2 separate regions of the Homo sapiens genome follow, and region 2 is linked to region 1. The links are contacts of gene promoters, found by promoter capture Hi-C in blood cells and fetal thymus (Javierre and others, 2016). All regions are on one chromosome and are shown on one strand. Each heading gives the region's core, a stretch centred on a gene start or on the middle of the fragment in contact. The rest is flanking DNA. Distances are from core to core; before and after follow the strand shown. Region 1 overlaps LOC105371777 (a long non-coding RNA gene). Region 2 holds the start of KRT34 (keratin 34).

Region 1 (4,674 bases), core at 787-3,286:
TGTGTTCAAGCCACTTGAGATGTATTGATACTAGAAGGTTTATCTTTTAAAACAAGAAAGAAGAAAAAAAGCAAACCTTTTACAACGATCAACTTAGCAAATTAAAATTGTCTTATTTAACTAATAATTAGTTTCCAAAAAGTTCACCAGTAAGGAGGCAGTTCTACAAGGCATAAAGTGAAAAAGAAAGTTAGCAATTATTTAGAGTTAAGAAAACCAGCCAATCAATAACTACTCAGGCTTTAAAAACATACTCAAATATCAAATGAAAATGAAATTCTTAATCATATAGCTGAGTAAATGATTTTTTTATGGGGTAGTAAATGTTTCTTAAATCTTGGAACTGAATCCAAGATTGTGCTGAGCTAAAGAAACCAGACACAAAAGAATACATACTGTATGATTCCATTTATATGAAACTTTCAGAAAGATAAAATCTCATCTATAGTGACAGAAATAAGCTCAGTGGTCACCTGAGCTGAAAGGTGTGGGAGGAGTGAGAATTAACTGGTTAACCTGGAAGGGGCACCTGAGAACCTTTGGGACCGATGGAAGTGTTCCGTATCTTGACTGTGGTGATGGGTCCATTTAGCAAGGCTCTTCAAACTGCACATTTAAAACGAATATATTTCATTGTAAGTAAATATTAACTCAATAGTCAATTTTAAAATAATAATTGAATATTCTTTCTTCAGATGATACTGTCCACAGGCGCAGAGAGGCCATGTAGGATCGTCAAAGGTGTCCTAGGGCAAGCTGGCTCTTAATCACTGATCAGTAAATATTCAGGAATTTTCCAAGCTGGCTATTAAACCATGGGCAGCTTGAAATTGGCCATGATGGGAGTATTTACACAAATGGAACTTGGGCTTTTAAAATGTATTTCCCAGAAAACTGTTTTACACCAGTACACCACTGAGCATAGAGGTTAAAAGCACAGTTCAAAGGCCTGAGTTTGGGTCCCAGCTCTGGCACTTTCTAATGGTTTTACTTACCTCTCTGTTCCATAGTTCTCTGTTCCCTAAAATCAAGGCAAAAAAGGATACCTGCTTCACGCCCTATTATGAGAATTCTATGGGTCAATTCACACTTGGCATATAGTAAGCACTAAATATTACCTGCTATTATTATGCAAAGAAAAAAAGTCTCTCTACAACTAAAGAAATGAACTGGTTTACATATTTCCCCCAGACATATTTATTCTTTTTCTTCCCTTCATGCACAATCCTAAATTATTCCACTTTTGTAAAAAAAAAAAGTGCACTTTTCTCACCCAACATATGGGGAGGGGGGAATAATATTTATCTTCCCTCTATCACAAGTTGTGAGCATCAAATAAGCCAACTTCTGTGAAGGAGCTTAACAAGCCATAAAGCACTTTGAAACTATAAGATGTGCTTTCTTCAGAGATGGGGTCGCTCTCTGTCACCCAGGCTGTAGTGCAATGGTGTGCTCATAGCTCACTGCAGCCTCAAATTCCTGGGCTCAAGTGATCCTCCCACCTCAGACTACTGCCATTTTAGTCAAATGTCAGATGCCTGATGAAAGGTGCAAACCACGGTGCCTGTCTAAAATGCTAATATTAATGTAGCTGCTCAAATTGAAGGGGAGGATTCTACAACTAAATACAGAGTATATAAAATAAATTAAGAAAAACTGGGGCTGGGAGCAGTGGCTCACGCCTATAATCCCAGAACTTTGGGAGGCCGAAGCGGGCAGATCATGAGGTCAGGAGATTGAGACCATCCTGGCTAACACAGAGAAACCCTGTCTCTACTAAAAATACAGAAAATTATCCGGGCGTGGTGGCGGGCACCTGTAGTCCCAGCTACTTGGGAGGCTGAGGCGGGAGAATGGTGTGAACCCGGGAGGCAGAGCTTGCAGTGAGCTGAGATCGCACCACTGCATTCCAGCCTGGGCGACAGAGTGAGACTCCGTCTCAAAAAAAGCTTAGCATTCTTGGGAATTGTCATGCATGATTTTAGGGTTTATTTCTTAAATTAGCATAATATAGCAGAATTATAAATAAATGCAATGCTTTACACACATGCAATAAATTGTTTGCAAAACTCAGAATAGATATTTTAACTTTATAGACTGTAAAAACATGAGCATCAAGCTTTTTCAGGAAAAAAATTCTGCATACTACTCTTCTTTAGAATTAAATTCATTGCGAATTCTAGTTGCTAAAATATGTCATTGTTTTTTCACTATGTACATATTCTTAATGAAATGCAACTCTTCTTCAAAATGATGGAACAAATACGCAATTTAGAAGCAGACCTGTAAATAAATCACACTGATAAAACAGTCCACAGACAGCAGTGGGCTCTAATAGAAGCCATTTAGATGGTATTTCAGGCTTTCTCAGTGAGTCATTATCTTACTCAGAACAAGTTACTCAACTTGAGATGACTCACTTTGTACAAAAAGACAACAATAATATCACATATAATCACATTAGCCCGGCATTTTGAAATCTTTAAAAACACCGTAAACACACGACGCTATGACCTTGGTTGGTAAGAATATGGTCATTTTAGTTACTGACTTGCACTTATTGATCTCCTGAAGTTATACATACACTACTAAGTTTCTGCTAAGTGTACTCATTTTGAAATATTTCATTTATTTGCAAGTAACATGGGATTTTAAAGAAATCACGTCAGGCTGCAATTTCACGTTTCAAATAAACAGAGCAACAAGTATAACTTTTTTGACAAGTTGCAGTGTAATTTTTATTTTTTATTATTATACTTTAAGTTCTGAGATACATGTGCAGAACGTGCAGATTTGTAACATAGGCATACACGTGCCATGGTGGTTTGCTGCACCCATCAACCCATCATCTACATTAGGTATTTCTCCTTAATGTTATCCCTCCCCTAGTCCCTCACTCCCCGACAGGCCCCGGTGTGTGATGCTCCCCTCCCTGTGTCCACATGTTCTCATTGTTCAACTTCCATTTATGAGTGAGAACATGTGGTGTTTGGTTTTCTCCGCTGGCTTATTTATGTATACAAGTGGGGCATCACATATGCATTTATTTGTGTATTCATTCTGTAGCTGTAATAGGTTCATTGCCTGGATGTTCACAGCAAGTCAATACCCAGAGGCACCAGGTTGCAACAGAGACAGAGGTTTAATGGTAAGGCCAACAAATGAGGAGAAAAGAGAAAACCCCAAATCCATCTTCCCGGGGACTCTGGGGCGAGGGTTTTTAAGAGTTTTGGAGTGAGCCAAAGCATAGAGATTGTTGATTAGTTGAAGAGTACAGGGTGAAGTCCCAGGACAGGGAGAGAAAGAAACTGTACTCTCATGCTCATTTGGTTTGTCTGTGGGAGTCTTTAAATTGGTTGGCGTTAGCAGTTCCACAGTAATTCAGGATCCGTTTAAGCAATTCTTAAACAAAAGCCTCATGGTTCTAACATTAGAATTTCTATCTACAGGAACAATGGGGATGCAAATGGTCAGAATCTAAGGTTATGTGATGTTTAGTTACAAGGAAGTGGGTCAAAGTGCAGCCTGGTTAAAGCTTAATTATAACTACATTTCTGCCCAGAATTCTTAATTCTGTGAGGATGGCTTCAATTCCTTCAACAAGCTTTTATTTAGCACCAACTATATGTAAGACTCTACATAGTCTATTGAAAATAACCTCAGTTTTTATGATCTAAAGGCAAATACATGATAAAGTTTCATACAGTTTTTACATTGTATATTACAATTTACATTGGATAAAAAGTACCTCCCAAGGTGCTTTACGGTGTTTTCACTGGATACCCATTTTAAACAGCCTTATGTGCTGATTCTGGATGATAATTTTAATGTTAAACTTCCCTAGCCTATCTAATATATGACTGAGTAGGCTGACAAATAATAAAATAAATGTTTATCATTTAAAAAATACAAATATATATAATCAGCATCCAATAGAGATAATCCTGGAACAAAAATTAGTACTACAGAATTAGATCCAGGCTAATCAGAATCCAGCAGTGGTGTTATAGGAAAGCACAACAATGAAGTCCTTCTCAGTGTTATTACTCAGAGGCTAGGGGTAAGAAAAAGTCCTTCAGGTGATGTGAAGTTAGGAGAATTTTACTCAGTTCCCCTGTGTGACTATGGAAGGTGTTTTTACAGCTTGCAGAGCTGAAGGAGATAGAACTGAACGCTGGCCAGTGGGAAGACAAGAACTGCTCAAGGGAAAGGAAGGTCTCAGTAGGGAGGAGAACCTGATGAAAGTTTTAGTCATCATTATCATGATTATCTGTCACCTCCAGGGTACACAGGTAACAGTTGCATTAAAGAGGAGATCATTTCTGAGGAGCTAAAGGACAATATAATATTATAACACCAAAGACACAAAGCTGAAGTAGCAGGTTACACAATTATTTGCCAATTTGTCCACAGGGAGACTTTTTAGCTGCACTTTCCAAAGCATTGGCACTCTGAAAACTTAATCATATAAAACTACATTCCCAACATGTAGAATATGTATCATAAAACACTTGCTATACACATATATCCAAACATCTTATGTCCTTATGATAATTTATCTCTGAACTAAAAATCTATTTAGGATCACTATGGATCATTTAAATTATGTTTCATTTTGTCAGAAAAAAAAATCAAATAATAAAGCATTATTTTAACTGGCTTTTACCTTTCAGT
Region 2 (4,674 bases), core at 570-3,069, 530 kb before region 1:
TAAAATCGAAGATGTGCTTTTCTGCTCCTCTCATGCTGCTTTTGAAATTCAGATGCAGCCTTCTTTAAATGATTTGTATTGTGTTCCACAAATAATCTTTTGGGACTTCTTTCTGAAACATGACTTTGTTTCCCTGCGGAACAAAGGCAAGGTAGAGTGACAGGGAAAAGAAGTGAGGTAGGGAAGGCTATTCTGTGAAGAGTGATTATTGGGCAATAGAGAGGCTCCCTAGGTTATGCAAGAGTCAAAGGGTAACTGGATCCCAGAGGTGATAGAAGCACACTTATCAGAGACAGTGTCTACTTGTAGGGACAACAGAGTAAATCTGCATTCTCATGGGCACTGTGGCTTGTCCTGGAAGCATCTCAGGCTGGCATAGTCATACCTCTAGGAGAGTTAATACTCTAGAAAGAGGAACAAGTCTAGAAATAAGATGATAGAAATTTCCAGAGAATTTGAGAAAAAGCCACCATGGATACAAAGATACCTCTGAGCACCCTTGCTCCAATTTTCGTTTCTTGGTGAGTCTGCAGTATTATGCTTCATATTCATGCTTCAGTGCTGCCATCTGAACTCTCACTGCTCCAGACTGTTTCCAGCATATTTTTTCTTCTAGATATTTCTACTCTTGCTCATCTTTAGAGAGGCTGTTGCTTTAGTACAAGTTGGCAAATTTTTTAATTTTAGGGCTTTGTGGACACTATAGTCTCTGTCACAACTACACAACTCTGCCACTGTAGCACAAAAGCAGCCATATACAATAGCTAAACAAATGGGCATGGCTGTGTTCCATTAAAACTTTATTTACTGCCGGACGCATTGGCTCACGCCTGTAATCCCAGCACTTTGGGAGGCCGAGGCGGGCGGATCACGAGTTCAGGAGTTCAAGAGCAGCCTGGCCAACATGGTGAAACCCCATTTCTGCTAAAAACACAAAAATTAGCCGGGTGTGGTGGCGGGCACCTGTAATCCCAGCTACTCGGGGGGCTGAGGCAGATAATTGCTTGAACCCGGGAGGTGGAGGTTGCAGTGAGCCGAGATCGTGCCACTGCACTCCAGCCTGGGCGACAGAGTGAGACTCTGTCTCAAAAAAAAAAAAACAGAAAACAAACAAACAAAAACTTTATTTACAAAAATTCAGCAGGGTAAACTTGACGTGTGGGCTGCCATTTGCAGATGCCCTCTTTTAGGTATACTCCCATCCATTCCATTGGTTTCCATTTTACTTTCTCATTTCTCAACCATGAACATGCCATTGTTTTCAGTTGCTCCATGTGTTGGCAAGTTCCCTAAACCCCAACGAATAGTAAGGCTCAGGATCATTTCGGCGAATACAGGTTGAGTTTCTGCTATAAAAACAAATTGAATGCTGAAACATGGATGAATGTGGGAGGAAAGAGCTACTTGGAAGAGTAACTCTCAAAGCTCTCTCTCAGAGCTCTCTCTCTGGGGAGAAAGAACAGTGGCGGAAACTCCTGGGTGAGGAATCCCTGATTCCCAAACAACTCCACCCCATGTCCCTGGCTGTCCTCCCCTCTGAGTAATGCAGACAGCCTTTTGGGGCTGTGATGATTCTATCTCCTATGAAGCCATCTGATGAAACTCTGATTTCACCAACCACTAGCACCCAGGAAGAGCCTGGTGTGACATAAGCTGAATGGAATAATTTTATGGGTTGAGGGGGGACTCTTTAGAAGCATCTAACTAGCATATTTTGGAGAAAAATTAGCTGAAGCATTAGGAAAGGAAACTATGCTGTATGCCAAGCCCCCACCCACAATTAATGGTATAAAAGGACTGCAGAGGAAGGAGAGACTCAAACCTGCCCACATCCACCTCCAGCAGCTTACCTGCTTTTCCATTACCTGTTCCAGCACCATGTCTTACAGTTGTTGCCTGCCCAGCCTGGGCTGCCGCACCAGCTGCTCCTCCCGGCCCTGCGTGCCCCCCAGCTGCCACGGCTACACCCTGCCTGGGGCCTGCAACATCCCCGCCAATGTGAGCAACTGCAACTGGTTCTGTGAGGGCTCCTTCAATGGCAGCGAGAAGGAGACTATGCAGTTCCTGAACGACCGCCTGGCCAGCTACCTGGAGAAGGTGCGTCAGCTGGAGCGGGACAACGCGGAGCTGGAGAAACTCATCCAGGAGCGGTCCCAGCAGCAGGAGCCCTTGCTGTGCCCCAGCTACCAGTCCTACTTCAAGACCATTGAGGAGCTCCAGCAGAAGGTGAGGGGGTTGGCCATATGGGGGGCCAGCAGCAGCTGGCTCTCTTTGAACAGTAAGACATTTTCAAGTTCAAGTGTACCTCATGAGAGAAATTTCTTTTCAGATTCTGTGTGCCAAGGCTGAGAATGCCAGGCTGGTGGTGAACATTGACAATGCCAAGCTGGCCTCTGACGACTTCAGAAGCAAGTATGTTGAACTTCAAGGTCCCTATGGTTCTTTCATGGCCCTAGGGACCTACTATTGCCTGGAAGAGAGGAGAAAGCCATTTCTCTCTATTTCTCCTCCTAGGGCTGGTTATGTAAAATTAGTTTCAAATAGGGAACTAGACTCATGTGCTGCCTGCTCTTTGGTCTATACTGGTTTTTTTTGGAAGTGTTTCTTAAACCACAAAATTCAGAGATTGAAATGAATTGTTCTTTGGGAATTGATTTGGTGGTATATTAGCTAACAAAACCGAGAACACAGTGAGAGACTTCATCTCATGTGTGCCTGTGGGCTCCTCGTGGTGTTAGGTGAGTCAGGGAACCTCTTCAGCCTATCCATGGACAGCTTGACTGAAGCATATGGAAGAGAAGAGGCAGAAAACTGTAAGTTCAAGAAGATTCAGGCCAATTCTACCCAAACAACACATGAGAGGGGAAGGTGGTTTTCTTTCCTGACTTATCCTCCCACTCCGACACGTGCAGGTACCAGACGGAGCAGTCCCTGAGGCTGTTGGTGGAGTCGGACATCAACAGCATACGCAGGATCCTGGATGAGCTGACCCTCTGCAAGTCTGACCTGGAGTCCCAGGTGGAGTCCCTGAGGGAGGAGCTGATCTGCTTGAAGAAGAACCATGAGGAGGTATGAAACAAATTCACAAAAGCAGGCCTCAGAACTAAGCTACTAGCACTGGGAATCAGGAGAGGATTACTGTCTGGATCCCTGGTCTGGGACCCTTCTCTGAGGAACTCAAGATGTTCTCAGAGAGTGACGGTGCTACATCCATATCAAGGAGTGGAGTGAGCTGCTCATTCTTCAGCGGCTGGGTGAGGGTTAGGCAGGTGTTGGAATTACTGAGGAGGGACATCATTCATTGAGCCCTGCTCTCTGCTGATCACTGCTAGGTCCTGAATTTGGTGGTGGAGATGGAGGGACAAAAAAGAAATAAGACATGGCCCTTTTCTTAAAAGAGCTCACAGTCTAGTATAGAAAGACAGTCATATAAACACAGTGATATAAACAAGACAGAGTGAAACAAGTACCATATGAGATGTACAAGCAGTATGCTCTAGAAATAATCCAGGCTGCCCAAGAGGAGATAGGGAACTCTTCTCAGATGCAAAGAGGAGGATTCCAGTACTTGGGTGTTTCAGTCTGAGGGAAGAGGTTGAACAAAGACACAGAAGTGGCAGGGCAGGGTGTATCTGGGTATGGCTGGGCATGCAGTACCTCCAAGGGATGAAAGTGAAGATGTGATGGGAAGCGAGGAAGGACTTGCATATGCCAAGGAGTTTAGACTTAGTCTTGTAGAAGGTGTGAGGTTGTTTCCGTTTCTATGGGACAACAATTGACGTGATCCCTGTTGGAGTTTATTGCTATAAAATGTGTGTGTCACTCTTTGGGAATGATCAGAATCTTCCTTTTAGTGCTTTTTTTTTTTTGACGGAGTCATGCTCTGTCACCAGGCTGGAGTGCAGTGGCGTGATCTAGGCTCACTGTAACATCCGACTCCCTGGTTCAAGTGATTCACTTGCCTCAGCCTCCTGAGTAGCTGGGATTACAGGCACATGCCACCACGCCCAGCTAATTTTTGTATTGTTAGTAGAGATGGGGTTTCACCATGTTGGCTAGGATGGTTTCGATCTCCTGACTTCGTGATCCACCTGCCTCTGCCTCCCAAAGTGCTGGGATTACAGGCTTGAGCCACTGTGCCCGGCCCCTTTTAGTGCTTTCTGGGCAGCATCAAGCTCATTTTCCCAGAGCAGGAAGATGGCACATCTTCCATGGGACAGCAATTGATGTGATCCCTGTTGGAGTTTATTGCTATAAAATGTGTGTGTCACTCTTTGGGAATGATCAGAATATTCCTTTTAGTGCTTTTTGGGCAGTATTGTGCTCATTTCCCTGGAGCAGGAAAATGGCAGATCCATTGCCGTAGGTTCATTGTTTCCCTTTTCTCCAACAGGAGGTTAACACCCTGCGCTCCCAGCTTGGAGACCGCCTCAACGTGGAGGTGGACACTGCCCCCACTGTGGACCTGAACCAGGTCCTGAACGAGACCAGGAGTCAGTATGAGGCTCTGGTGGAAATTAACCGCAGGGAAGTGGAGCAATGGTTCGCCACGCAGGTGGGCATCTAAGCACATGGCCACTCAGGACCCGAGGTGCCCCAGGGCCCTGGAGACAGGGTCTGATCCTTTCCCCACTTGGGTGTTTCAGACCGAGGAGCTGAACAAGCAGGTGGTAT

What was found. Contacts are between HindIII fragments. The CHiCAGO score rates a contact against its expected background, and 5 or more counts as called.
Region 2: the fragment with the promoter of KRT34 here is called in contact with a fragment that was not itself captured in region 1 in 3 of 17 cell types (M1 macrophages, naive B cells and endothelial precursors); the score reaches 6.4 in M1 macrophages.

Annotation. Positions count from the first base shown.
Region 1 is chr17:40,852,129-40,856,802 of GRCh38, reverse strand. All of the region lies in intron 1 of LOC105371777 (a long non-coding RNA gene), which reads right to left. Among named protein-coding and RNA genes, the nearest start is that of KRT12, 13 kb to the left of the region's middle. The HindIII fragment of the contact is 170 bases long and covers 1,952-2,121 here.
Region 2 is chr17:41,379,451-41,384,124 of GRCh38, reverse strand. It overlaps KRT34 (keratin 34), which reads left to right and starts at 1,819. Exons shown (of 7, transcript NM_001386014.1): 1 at 1,819-2,226; 2 at 2,330-2,412; 3 at 2,913-3,069; 4 at 4,394-4,555; 5 at 4,647-4,674. The coding sequence starts at 1,879. RefSeq lists an enhancer at 1,627-2,826. The HindIII fragment of the contact is 8,651 bases long and covers 1-4,674 here.